Linked DNA regions of Homo sapiens: all the other regions are linked to region 2. The links are contacts of gene promoters, found by promoter capture Hi-C in blood cells and fetal thymus (Javierre and others, 2016). All regions are on one chromosome and are shown on one strand. The core of a region is centred on a gene start or on the middle of the fragment in contact, and the rest is flanking DNA. Distances in the headings are between cores, read along the strand shown.

The links. Contacts are between HindIII fragments. The CHiCAGO score rates a contact against its expected background, and 5 or more counts as called.
Region 1: a contact is called between the fragment with the promoter of CMPK1 here and a fragment that was not itself captured in region 2, in 6 of 17 cell types (M0 macrophages, M2 macrophages, total CD4 T cells and 3 more). The highest score is 8.4, in M0 macrophages.
Region 3: the fragment with the promoter of TAL1 here is called in contact with a fragment that was not itself captured in region 2 in 2 of 17 cell types (total CD4 T cells and naive CD8 T cells); the score reaches 6.1 in total CD4 T cells.

What each region holds. Positions count from the first base shown.
Region 1 is chr1:47,331,757-47,336,225 of GRCh38, forward strand. CMPK1 (cytidine/uridine monophosphate kinase 1) reads left to right here and starts at 2,034. Exons shown (of 6, transcript NM_016308.3): 1 at 2,034-2,360. The coding sequence starts at 2,190. RefSeq lists a silencer at 1,947-2,586 and enhancers at 1,973-2,776, 2,777-3,580, 3,097-3,156. The HindIII fragment of the contact is 8,075 bases long and covers 1-2,941 here.
Region 2 is chr1:47,715,558-47,719,991 of GRCh38, forward strand. No RefSeq gene overlaps it. Among named protein-coding and RNA genes, the nearest start is that of LINC01738, 29 kb to the left of the region's middle. The HindIII fragment of the contact is 201 bases long and covers 1,233-1,433 here.
Region 3 is chr1:47,230,331-47,234,857 of GRCh38, forward strand. TAL1 (TAL bHLH transcription factor 1, erythroid differentiation factor) reads right to left here and starts at 1,895. Exons shown (of 5, transcript NM_001290403.2): 1 at 1,837-1,895. RefSeq lists enhancers at 117-1,090, 1,091-2,064. The HindIII fragment of the contact is 19,807 bases long and covers 1-4,527 here.

The sequences.
Region 1 (4,469 bases), core at 784-3,283, 380 kb before region 2:
TGAGCCAAGATGGCACCACTGCATTCCAGCGTGGGTGACAGAGTGAGACTCTATCCCCCCCAAAAAAATTTTTTTCCAGCTGTGATAATAAAAAATATCCCATTCTCCTTTCTATGGTGGGAAGGAAAAGGTAGAAGTTGTGGAGAGGAAAGAGGTAGAAATTAAAGGGAGAATGGAAAAGAAGGGCAAACAAAGGCAAGTAGGTGAGGAGAAGGACAGGAAAAGAGACAGGGAGAAGGGAGGGACTTATAAATGGGAAAAGAAGGGTAGGAAGGATGGGAATAAGTAAAAACAACAACAACAAAAAGAAAGCAAGGAGAGAGAGTAGAGATGGGGAAGAGCCAGAAAATGCTGAGTGAGCTAAGAAAGGACCACCAAAAGAAAAAGGAGAATGGGGGTGGTCAGACAGAGGGCTATACCACTATCTTCCTCTCCTGTTTGCTTTCGTTTACTAACGTCCTGGTCACTCTGCCCTAAACAGCTTAGTTCCTTTCCCATAGTCTTTGTTCACTCCAGCACTATCTGACTTGAACTTGTACCTGTACGACAAATCTAACACCCTGGACTCTTAGTTCTAAAAACAGGACATGCATTCTGCCTCAGTCTTCCATTCCCATGGTCTCACCCTGGACCTTGGCATCATCAGAAACTCAGAAGCTGGGACATTTCAATTCCAAATATCCCACTCAGACCAGCAGCATCCATACTGCCAGAGCACTTGCTCATATACCCCACTGCAATCTTTCTTGGGCCAATGCTCTAAGACATTGGTCCCTTTCCCCACCACCCTCCAACCCCTCCACTACCAGGCTTCATGTGCCATTATTTGCTTTCCTGTATGGTTTTGATTCTACACACAGCATCATGAACATTCTCTTCCAAACACTCTCATCACTTGGCCCCCTCTCTCTGTTGTACTTGCCAGGCAAAATCCCAACCCTCAGTAAATGCAACAAGCTGCCTTCTCTGCCTGTGCCTGAATGGCCAAACATCTTCAATTATTTTGAATCCGTTACCTCAAATATCAAATGAGCTCTTAACGTTGGCCAGAAGGCCTTTTAAAGGCCTGTATGCACCAAGGCTCAGTTCTTGAACGTCTCCTTTTCTTCTCCCTTAAGATTCTTCCCTAATGAAGGGGGCAGGCGAACGGAGTTAAAGGGCTTCCATTGCTGTTAGAATACAGCCCAAATTCCTTTCCATAATCAAAAGTCCTGATCTGCCACCGACCTCACTTTCTCAACTTTTCACCTTCCATTCTCCCCTCATTTGACTCAGCCCTGGTCTCACTGTCACTGGCCTTTTTTCCTTTTTTTTTTTTGAAGCAGTCTCATTGTCACCTAGGCAGGAGTGCAGTGGTGCTATTACGGCTCCTAGGCTCAAGTGAACATCCCAGTAGCTGGGATCACAGGCACGGGTCACGGTGCCCGGCTTTTAAATTTTTGGTCGAGACGGGGTCTCGTCATGTTGTCCAGGCTGGTCTCGAACTCCTGGGCTCAAGCCATCCTCCTGCCTCAGCCTCCCAAAATGCTGGGATTACAGGCGTGAGCCACCGCGCCCAGCCAGGCCTTCCTTCAATTGCTTTAACATGCCAAACCAACTTAGATTTTTTGCACATGCTTTTCTCTGTGGGACACTCTATCCTGGTGTTTGCCTGGTTTCGCTCTTTTCTATCCTTTTGTCTTGGCTTGAATGTCACCTCTTCTGAAGCCTTCTCTGGCGACCCTGGCCATCTTATGTCCTACTTGTTATTTCTTCAAAATCGTACTGCCTTTTGTATGTACTGGTGTTTACTCATTCACACTGGCTACCTCCCCATACCTCACTGGCTGGAATGGAAACTCATTGCGAGCAGAGACAATAGGTTTTGCTCTCCCGCGGATCACGTCCCAGCCTCCAGCTCAGCACCAGACACTTGAGGGCGCAGGATAAAATATCTGCAGTCAGAAAGCACTAATAACCACCCAAGGGTTGGAGGAAAGCTGGCGCGGACCGCACGAGTGTCGCCGAGACGCCGCCGCCGTGCGAAGCTCCTCCCCTTCCGACAGGGCCGCGGACGCCCGGGCAGCCACGGCGGCGGGGCCGCGGCGGGCGCCGGCTCAGCCCGCCCCTTTCTCCCGCCGCCTCCCCGCCCCGCCCCGCGCCGCGCCGGCCGCTGTCAGCTCCCTCAGCGTCCGGCCGAGGCGCGGTGTATGCTGAGCCGCTGCCGCAGCGGGCTGCTCCACGTCCTGGGCCTTAGCTTCCTGCTGCAGACCCGCCGGCCGATTCTCCTCTGCTCTCCACGTCTCATGAAGCCGCTGGTCGTGTTCGTCCTCGGCGGCCCCGGCGCCGGCAAGGGGACCCAGTGCGCCCGCATCGTCGAGGTGAGGCCCGGGCAGCAGGCGGGCTCCTTGGGGCTTGACGGGATGCGGGCCGGCCTGTCCCGCCGCCCCTAGTCCGCGCCCCGCGGAGTCGCCGAGCCGCAGACTACGAGTCCCGGCGGCCACCGCGCCGCCCGCGTGGCAGTGGCCGAGGGCCGCCGGCGCGCGGCGTGCCGGGACTTGTAGTCCGCGCCCGCCCGCCTTGGGGGCCACCGCTTGAGGTCGCTTTGTTCCTGCGCCCCTTCTTTTCTTACATTTTGGGGACCAGATTCGTCTCTAGAGTGGGCTGGGAGAGGGATCCCGGAGGCCAACCTTTGGGGGTCCCCCAGCGCGCAGAGGTTAGCGTGTCGCTGATCGTGTGGCAGGTGAAGGCAGCAGGAGCGCGGATTTGGGTTAGAGGCCGTGTGCGCCCACAGTTGTCTGAAGGAGAGACCTATTTTTCTTCTCCGCGCCTTCCCTCTGGTTCCCTAAACTCCGCACTGTCACCGAACGTGTCTTTACTCTAGAAAGGAGGCCCGTGGGGCGGGGTGTTATTTTAGGCGTGCTGTGGGCTGCCGCTGGCACTCTCGAGCCCCGTCCCCGCAAGCTTTAGGGCGGAGCCAGCCCTGAGGCTCGGCCCGGGTCGGGGATGGGGAAAGCCGGGAGTGCTGTTCTGAGATCAAGCTTCAACCTTTGGCCCTGCTGCCAACTCACGCTCGGCCCTCGGTCACTTCCTGTCTCCCAGCCTCAGTTAGCCCTTGTAATACAGTAAAAAGAGTCTCTGAACCCAGATTTTCTCAGGATATAAAACACCTCCCAAATGTAAAATGCTGTTACTTTTTTTTCTTTTGCTTTGAGACAGGTTACCAGTTCAATTCTTTTAACAATTTTTGAGCTAGATGTATGGTTGGTTAGCTGCATTGACACTGTGGGAAAAAAAGGCTTCATGGACAATCTGGGGAATGCTTGGGAAAGAAGGAAAACAGGATATCTAGAAACAGAAGAGGCGACCATTGGTGGCCTCTAGTGAAATCACTCTGAAACCCTGTAACCAACAAAAGTTTTTTTGACCTAGAACTTATAATTTCCTCCTCTTCTAGGATATGGCCAATATTAGCATGGGGCTTTTGCTTCTCTCCTTATATGTTCATAACAATCAACTCCTGTCCTGTATTTTATTCCCTAAATAGCATCCAGAGAAAGTTAGATGAGTTCAACAAGTCATTATGTGTTGGACAGATGTATTTATAAATATTGATCATTTTGCCAGGCGCTGTGGCTCACTCCTGTAATCCCAGCACTTTGGGAGGCCGAGGCTGGCGGATCACGAGGTCAGGAGTTCGAGACCAGCCTGGCTAACATGGCGAAACGTTGTCTTTACTAAAAATACAAAAATTAGCCTGGCGTGGTGGCGGGCGCCTGTAATCCCAGCTACTCCGAAGGCTGAGGCAGGAGAATCGCTTGAAACCGGAAGGCGGAGGTTGCGGTGAGCCCATATCGCGCCACTGCACACTAGCCTGGGCGAAAGAGTGAAACTCCGTCTCAAAAAAAAAAAAAAAAAAAAAATCATTTTAGGTGTCAAAGTGGAACTAGTCCAACTAAAAAAATACATAACATTTACATCCTCTTAAAAAAATTTTTTTTTGTTGGTTCTCTTTCTTTTGTTGTTTTTTTGTTTTTGTTTTTGTTTTTGTGACAGTCTCACTCCGTCACCAGGCTGGAGTGCGGTGGTGCGATCTCAGCACACTGCAACCTCCGCCTCCCAGGTTCAAGCGATTTTCCTGCCTCAGCCTCTGCATAGCTGGGATTACAGGCGTGCGCCACCACGCCTGGCTAATTTTTGTATTTTTGGTAGAGACAGGGTTTCACCATGTTGGCCAGGCTGATCTCGAACTCTTGACCTCGTGATCTGCCCGCCTCAGCCTCCCAAAGTGCTGGGATTATAGGCATGAGCCACCGTGCCTGGCCTTGTCACTTGTCTTTTAAAAAGTAAAGAGACTGGCTGCTGCACTCCAGCCTGGGCGACAGAGCGAGACTCCGTCTCAGAAATAAATAAATAAATAAATAAATGGCAAGTGAAAAGTGGGAGTGATTTCAAATTTTTGTTTAGTATATGTGATCTTTCTTAAATAG
Region 2 (4,434 bases), core at 83-2,582:
ATGTAGGTTTTACCGCATGCCATACATTCATGCAAGGCTTGAAGTCAGAAGTGTATTGAATGGGCAGAAAGGCAAGGAATGAGCCGTCCTTTCAAAACAATAACCATAGAAAAAACTCATGCAAAAGAAGAGAGAAGAGTGTGATGTACCTCTATCTGTATGACCCAGATTCAACAATTAGGAACATTTTTCCAATTTTGTGTTACCTGCCCAAATAATTTCCTCACCGTACTTTTTTTTATCTGGAGAGAAACCCTGTCAATGCTTTCACTGAAGTGTGCATTTAGCTAGTGTGGACATGCAGGTGAGCATGTTTCTTGAGTCAGAAGCCAAATTGGTGGCTTCCTGACTTGGCAGATGGTTTCCTAATGGTTGCAAAAGGAGCAGCTGCCTTGGTGGTCCATTCTGCAGCCTAACTTTGGGAGTTGGTCCTGAAGATGAAGCCTAGAATCTGTTTTCAGCTCTCCAAATATTTCTGTGAGCCATGAAATACTGTTAATACATTTATTTTTGCTTAAACTATTCAGAGTAGATTCTGTCTCTGAAACTAAAAGCTAATACATCCCCAACCAAATATATCCTCAGCTCAGTCTAACCCTGCTAAAAACCAACCCATCCTAAAATCATTCCAACCCACCCAAGCATGTTAAATCCAGCCTGATTCAAATTAGCCTAGCTCAGCCAAACCCAGCCCCAACCAAGCTATGCCTGACTCACCTCTTTCTACCTCAGCCCATCTAAACTCAATGCAATCCATCACATCTCAGCCTAGGTCAATTACCTTAATTTAAACAAGCCATTTAATCTGCACCTCAGCTTATATGACCCATCCAACTCATCTCAACTCAGTCTCTCCCAGCCCTAATCCCAACCTACCCAATGAATCTCAACCCAACCCATTCCATGGGAGTTGAGTGACACAGCCCATTTAATTTCACACGTATTTACTGAGTATCTTTTGGGGCCCCTGTGAGAGAACAAAGGGAACTTGAACTTCTTTACAGATGTAAGGCTGCATTCTTTTTTTTTATGCATTTCCTTTGTTCTTTTTTGCCTCCTTCTTTCCGATATCCCCCCCACTATAGACCCTGCCTCCTTGTTTACGTCCTTTCACCTTGGCTACCCAGTGTCCCCACAGTGCTTTCCAGGTGTTCAAGACCTCCAGTGGGAAGCCCCTCTCCTTCCCGGTCCTACCTGCCTGGAGAGTACCCCTAGAACCTCCACTCCTGCAAAGCTTATCTATTGTAGTAGTCAGAATTTCTAAAATGGGCTCCCAAAGATGCCCTTCCCTGATTCCTGAAACTTGTGAATATGATTAGACATCGCTCCTGTGATGATGTTATGTTATATGGTATAGTTGGCCTTAAGATAGGGAAGTTATCCTGAAGTATCTGGTGGTCCCAGTGGAATCAGATGAGCCCTTAAAAGCAGCAAGCTTTCTTTAGCCAACAGCAGAAAAGGAAGTCAGAAGAAGGAGATCTTGGAGATATTTGAAGTATGAGAATAACTTGCTGCATCATTGCTGGCTTTGAAAATGGAGAGGACCATGTGAGAAGGAAAATGAATGGCCTTAAGGAGCTGATGGCTAGCAAGGAACCAGGGACTTCAGTCTACAACTGCAAAGAACTGGATTTTGCCAACATCCTGATTGAGCTTGGAAGGGCATTTTTCCCAGAGCCTTCCCATAAGACCCCAGATGGCTAACACCTTGATTTTAGCCTGTGAGACCCAGGGCAGAAGACTCACATAAGCCCACCCGGATTTCTGGGCTACACAATTATACCATAGTAAATAGGTACTGCTATAAGTTGCTAAATTTATGGTAATTTGTTTCATAGCAATAGAAAACTAATATGCCTAGCCTGTGTTCACTCTCTCAGAATTATCTTGATTTTTTTTTTTTCCTAATCAACCTAAGAGATGAATCATCACAGAATAGGGAAAGAATACAGTATTGAACACAAATACACCTGGGTTCCAATCCTGGCTCAGTCACCTACTAGCCATGTGACTTCAGCCAAGTTACATAACCCTTCTAGGAAGAGCTTTATTCATCAATAAAATATGAGGATGATAACTTTCCTGGTCAGTTTGCTTGGAAAATTAAATATAATGCACATTGCATGTCTGACACATAGTAGGGGCTTAAATGTTTCTTTTACTTGTTTGGGATAGCAATAAGCTAATATTAAGTAGTCAGTTTAAAGATGTTAGAGTAAGTGCAGTTATTTTTTTCACTACCATCATTAATAGTCGGACAATTTTAATAGCACATCACTGACTTGACCTAGAGGGAGAGCTACTAGTGGAATTGAGGCCATGCTGATGAAGAGGGGTACTTGGTAGAGTGCCCAACATCACAGATCTCTAAGCCTATGTCAGAGTCTGGGTCTTGGATTAGTCACTGGACACACTATGAGACCAGGAGGAAGGAAATAAGCGGTGAAAATGACCCAAAGTTAAATTGAGAAATACATGCTGTACTCTGGAAATGAAATCACCTGATCTCCCTTTCTGGACCCAGGGAGCAGGTGACCCCAGCCACGGCTTCTTCTTTCAGGAACTGCAAAGCAGGCAGGACTGAGCTCATACTGCCACATCCTGCTCAATCTAGGAGGGTATCAGGAACCAAGCCATTTCCCTTTCTTCTCCCCAAGTCTAAACTTTACAAGTTATCAGAGAGAGCATAGAACAAGCAATCTTGAGTGTGTGGAGAAGGAAGACCTATTGAACTTTTCAGAGCTCTTCGGGGTTCAGCATTTTGTCCCTCTCCTTTTCCTCCTATCCTCATAGCCCCACTCCTCATCTACATGGACCCTTGGGGCCGTTGGATTTGGTGGTATCCTGTAAAGGTCTCCAGGCTTGTCAGAAAGCCTAGGTTCTGGTCCGTGGTGTGCAGAGCTTGTTTGCACCCACTGGCCAGAGCTGACCGTAAGTGCCTCTATTCAACTGCACTATCAAGTGATCTCACTTCAGTTTGAAATCTGCCATGGTGAGAACACACCATAGAAACTGGCAAAGACTGCAAATCAGGCTTTCTCTTCTCTAGAGAGCTGGTGTTAAATTTACCAGTAGACTGATGCTTCTAGCCTTGGCGGCCTGGGAAGAGGCAGATTCCTGCCCTTTTCTGGGCCTCAGTTCCCTCTTTAGTCAGTGCCTTAGCTACCCTCTAAGGGCCTTTAAAAAAAGCTCATTAGATACCAAAGAAAAGAGAGAAAGTGTGGATAACAAAATTATTGCTTTCATGGTAATACTTTCACAATAAAAATAGGGTTCACAATAGTCACATTTAGAAAGAGCTCTCTCTTTGCTAAATACCATGCTATGTATGTCATCTAAGGCCCTCCCTTGCCTTACTTAACCCCCCCTCACACCTGATTCAATCAGCTAGTGAGGTACGCAGGGCTGAAGATTTTTCCCCACTTGGCTCTGAAATTTGAGTGTCTGCATATGATTCTGGGCTCCACCACTTTCTCAGTTAGTTTGACTAAGTTATTTAATTTCTTTGTCTCTTGTTTCCTAACATGTAAAATGGAACAATAATAAAAGTTTCTACTTCTTCAGGTTGTTATGAGTATTAAGTGAGAAAACCCATGTAAAATGCTTGGATTAGTGTCAGTCACACAGTAAGGGCTAAAGGAATGTTGAGAAATGTCTTAACATTGTCTATCCCTGCATCTGTGGAGCCCACACAGGCCTGTTCCATGGTAGATGCCTAATAAATGTTTGTATTGGAAAAGAAGGGAGGCCAATAGACAAAAATGACAGAGAGAAATATTTGTATTAATAACTAAATGAATCTTTCATGTTTACTCACCTCGGTCTTTCCCATTTACTTTCACCAACTTATCTCATGACCGCCCTCATAGATGTTCTACAAAGAGTTGGAAATTCATTTACGTAGTCACTCAACAAATATTAATTGAGCCCCTCTGGTGCCAGGTCCTGGCTAGATGCTGAGGCTACCATTGGGAATGAGCTCTGGGTTTAGCTGGCGTTAGAATCGTGGAGTCCTTGGTCTTCTGTTGGGCAGACAGGCTCTGAGGGGCCACAAGCTTTGTGCTTGCAGGTACAAGGGGTGATGTGCTATGTTCCACTGCCACCTGCCACTCTGATCCCTGGGTTAGATGATCCTACATTTGAACCTTGGCTCTGCTATTTACAAGTGATGTCTCTTGTTCTTGGACAGGTGGTCCCCTCTTTTTTCTAAATCCCTCTTTCCTCTTAAGTCAAATGGATAAAAACATCCACCCTACTTCAAGGTTCAAACCTGTGTTTGAGGGGTAGAGCAGATGCTGGCATCTGGCACGGAAAAACACAATAAGTACATGCTTGCCCCTTCCTCTGGGCCACAGTCGGAGGTAGGCCCCCATTTTTCAGGGAAACAGAGGCCCAGGGAGGTGAAGAAACTTTCTTAAGCTCCCCGAACCTTGT
Region 3 (4,527 bases), core at 645-3,144, 480 kb before region 2:
CTTATGATCACACATCGAAGTCTTGGATTAACTGCGAAGGCCTCCTTCTATTTGCCGCGGCTTTGGTGGACATATAGGAATAATTCTTCCCTGGATTGCAATACAATGCGGAAGATTTTCTTTCTCCTCTTCTAATCCAAAAGAGGGGAGGGGAGGAAAGAAGAGGGGAATCCATCCATTCCCGGCGTGTTCGCGGGGGGTTAATGTTGCGTGTTCGCTGGGGGTTAATGTTTGCCTTATGACCAAGTCTCTGTGTCCGTGCCTCTCTCCATTTTCTCTTCCTACCTCAAACCCAGCAACTTAGAAAACGGCTGTAGCGGAAAAAAACCCGCTGCTTTGTTCTCCCGCCAAAGGAGCCAAAAGGGACAAACTGCTGCGCTCTGGGATGATTATTTTAATTAAAATAGATGTTAATGATGACGATTGTGATGGTGATGGCATTAGCAATTACAATAATTGACAAAACAAAATTCTTTCAACCCGAGCTAGGGCCCCACTAACCCGGTCCCTCCCAGAGCCCGGATTCGGCCTCGGTCTCGGATGCGACGGGTATCAGACCCAAGCGGCAACGTCGCTCACCCGAAGAGGGGGCGGGAAAATCTTCCCAGGAGGTGATCCCGAATGTCCCCACCCGAGGCTCGAGGCCTGGTGAATGTGCCCATTGTCCTTTCGGGGCCTCTCCCTTGGAGCCCGGCGGCCGCACCCACGAAACTGACCAGAAATGGATGAAGCCGGAGTGCAGCGGGAACCGAAGCCCGCAGCTACCGGCTCGAAGGCGCCGGCCTCGGCGAGCGCTGCTCAGCTTCAAGCCTGGAGGAGCCTCCCACTCACCAACGAACCCCTCAAACACCTAGGCACAGGCGGGCCTCCGGGCAGAGCAGCCGCCGACCGGGCGCTGTCCGCCCACCCAAGCCAACAACTGGCTCCCGAATACATCATAATTTGGAATAAAATGTGAAATCCCGCTCCCCGCCCCCATGCCGCCGCCCCCACCAGCGCCTCGATCTCTCGCTCGCCCTCCCCCCACTCCCGCCCCCAGCGATTTGCAAACGCACCTCTAAAGGACACAGGCACACAGGCATACAACTCAGTGCGGACAGGACCACACAGGGTCCAGCCCCACAGAAGGGCAGCAAACAAACACCACCTAGCACTGCCCCAGAAGCCGACTTGGTCAGCCCCGCACACTGCCCAACAGGACACAACGAAATCAGTCAAACGCAGCGGCTCACGGACACACAATCCAGCACAGTCGGGATCACACACGCCCGACATAACGACGACACCACCCAAACACAGTCGCAGGGGCCACACACCCCCACACACAGAATCAGATCCCTGCTGAGAACACCAACGGAGCACAATCGTACGCAACGAAGAAAACGCAGAAGGGCCTCGAAGGGTCCACATCTACACACCCCAACCGCGCAGGCACACCACACTCGGACACAGAGCCTGTCGCCAAGAAGACCACACTTAGAAGCAGCCAACGCCGCCCACAGTTCTCATGAACGCACTCTCACAATCCCACCGCATGCACACAACCACGAAGAAGAAATGAAAACCAACCACAGCCTCGCGCATTTCTGTATATTGCGTAAGGAAAAGGGGGAAGGAAGGAAGAGAGTCTCCGAGGCGGGAGGGGCGGCGGCAGCCGGGGCGGGGGCGTCCGTGGAAAATGCCCCCCCACCGCCCCCCCCGGCCATCGAAAGGAACCGAGGGAAAGGGAGCGAAGACCTCTTTTGCGGACGTGGGGAAAAAGAGGAGGAAATTGATGAAGAATTCGGTGGGAGGCCGCGGGTTGCTTTTCCCCTAGAAAAAGGCCAGAATGCTCACGTTTTTCCGCTACGGGGGTACGCGTGTGGCCATTTTGAGGCCCGGTCCTGAGCGGCGGCGGCCCGGCCCCTCCCGCGGCCCCCGCTCCCCCGCCCGCCCCGCGCCCGCCCGGCCCCTCCACCGACGCGCTGTAATCCCACTCACGTTCCAGGCCTCGTTAGCATGGGCCGAGGCGCGCCGGGGCCGTGTGCGCCGCAGAGATAAGGCACTGCCGCGGGTCCGCCCGCCCCCGATAAGCGCCTCGGCCATTATGGGCCAAATGATTCATTTTAATTTGGCAATTTCACCGGAGGGAGTGGGGACTGGTTGAGCGGCGCTAGGACCGGCTCCGGAACGCGCTGCGGGGAGCGTTGGACGCGCTGTCTAGGACCCAGCAGATCCAGCCCCCATCTCTAATCCCAAGGCCTCTCAGGAACCCCAGCTTCCCACAACCTCAGTCCCTTAACCTTTCAGACACCTTTCTTCAGCGACTCTCACCCCAGCACTCTGTCCCTACCTCTGAAGACCACCATGATACCAAAATCGTCACCTCCCAGGGCTTCTTTCTTATTCTTCCTCCAGTGTCCCAGACACCCAGATTTCAATGGGCAGTCTCCCTATCCCAGAAAGCTCCCCAGCCCTTCCCTACCTCTTCACCCCCTTCTAAAATAGAGCCGGTAACTCAAATCCATGGGCTCTACGGCGGCCTGGCAGAACCCCTGTCAATAGGGACATAAAATGCCTATTCTGCTAGGTTTCAGGCTGAGCCCAGAGCCCAGGAACACTGCTCCCCACATGGTATTTAAAAAAAAAAAAAAAGTTTAATCTAGCGACTGTAACACTATTCTAGGCATTCTGCAAATACTAATCTACTCTTCACAAACAGTCCTGAGAAGCTGGATCCTTAATTTACAGAAGAGAAAACTGAGGCACAGAAAGTCAAAGTAACTTTTCGAATGATACATAGCTAGTGCTTGGTGGAGTCTGCCTTGGAAGGAAATTTGACACGGAGTCTTCTCTGCGGCTCAGCTGATGAAGAGGGGCAGCCAAAACCTAGCCAGGGAAAGGGACCTGGGCTCAACTCATTGCAGAGACCAGGGTCTTTACTGTGGGGTAGAAATCTGAGTTCAGTGCCAGCTGGATGATGCGCTCAGCCCACGGAGGGTCTCTGGGTTCATTCTTTCATGGTGGAGTGGAAAGAACACATGTTCGAATTTTAGTCACTGATCTCTGAACCTCAGTTTTCTCATTTGTAAAATGGGGAGATAATGTCGACGTCACAAAGTTATGAGAACTAACTTATATGACCTTTAAAAGGTGGTGGTGAGGATAATAATGTATGGAACGTCACTCAGTCCACAGCCCAGGAAAACATCATATGCACTTGCATGGGAGTTCTGGTTATCATCATAGAGAAAGAAATTAAGACACAGAGAGATGTGACTTAGCCAAAACTTACAGTAACCCAAAGGAAAAGCCAGGACCCAAACTTTGGTGTCCAATTCCCAGTCCACAACTCTACTTTCCATGCCAGGCTGATTTGTCCTTCTAGTGTCTCTGCTTTTGAGCTTTTTTTGGAGCCTGAGAACTGGGGGAAAACCCCTACTCTGGTAACAAACTGAGTCCCAGTCAAAGACTGAGCAGAGAGCATGGCCCCAGTCTGGGATCTGGCTTCTCCTTGGTCATCAGGTTGACCCTCTGAGAAGATACAGTTAATTCAGTGCCGCCTGTCCCCTCTGTTCCTCCTGTGCTCTCTGAAGGAAGTCAGGCTGTCATGGGGATACAGATAACTCTCACAGAATCCCACATCCTAAGAAAAAGTCTAGTTCCCCCCTACCATAAGGCCTTTGCTTGGCTCCATCACTTATTAGAAAATGAGAGTCATATAATTCTGAGTCTGAAACACAACTCTGCCATTCCTGGGCTGTGGGACCCTTAGAGAAGTGATTTCATGTCTCTGAGCCACTGTAAAAACAGGCTAGCCATTCCCATATGGGAGAGCCCAGGTGGGGACTGCTTCTCTGAGAAAATGAGGCCTGGACTGAGATCTAAGAGTGAAATTTGGGGGTGCGAAGAAGGGGGGTGGGGAGAAGCATCAGTATCCAGAACCTTCCAGGTGGGCTGAGGAAACAGCTGGACCAAGGGCTAGAACAGAAGGGTGGTAGGTTCGTGAAAAGAATAGAAAAGTGTCCAGTATGGCTGGAGCATGCTTGTGGACAAGTTAAAAGATTTTTTGACATTTTTTTGTTTGTTTGGTTTGAAGGTGGGGGTGGTACCTTGTATAGAATAAGATTTGCATTTCTAGAAAGTTCTTTGGATGAAGTGTGGAGGGGGAAGGACTCTGGGAGGCCAGTTGTGGAGCCAATGCAGTGGTTAGGGGAAGCGGATTAGAGCTTGGACCACTGTGCTGGCAGAAGAGATGACAAGAGGCAAGTGAAGATGACATGTATTTGGGGTATAAAACTGGGTTTATAATAATTGGATTTGGGCCAGGCATGGTGGCTCATGCCTCTAATCCCAGCACTTTGGGAGGCCCAGGCAGGCGGGTCACGAGGTCAAGAGATCGAGACCATCCTGGCCAACATGATGAAACCCTGTCTCCACTAAAAATACAAAAATTAGCTGGGTGTGGCAGCGCACGCCTGTAGTCTCAGCTACTCAGGAGGCTGAGGCAGGAGAATCACCTGAACCCAGGAGGCAGAGGTTGCAGTG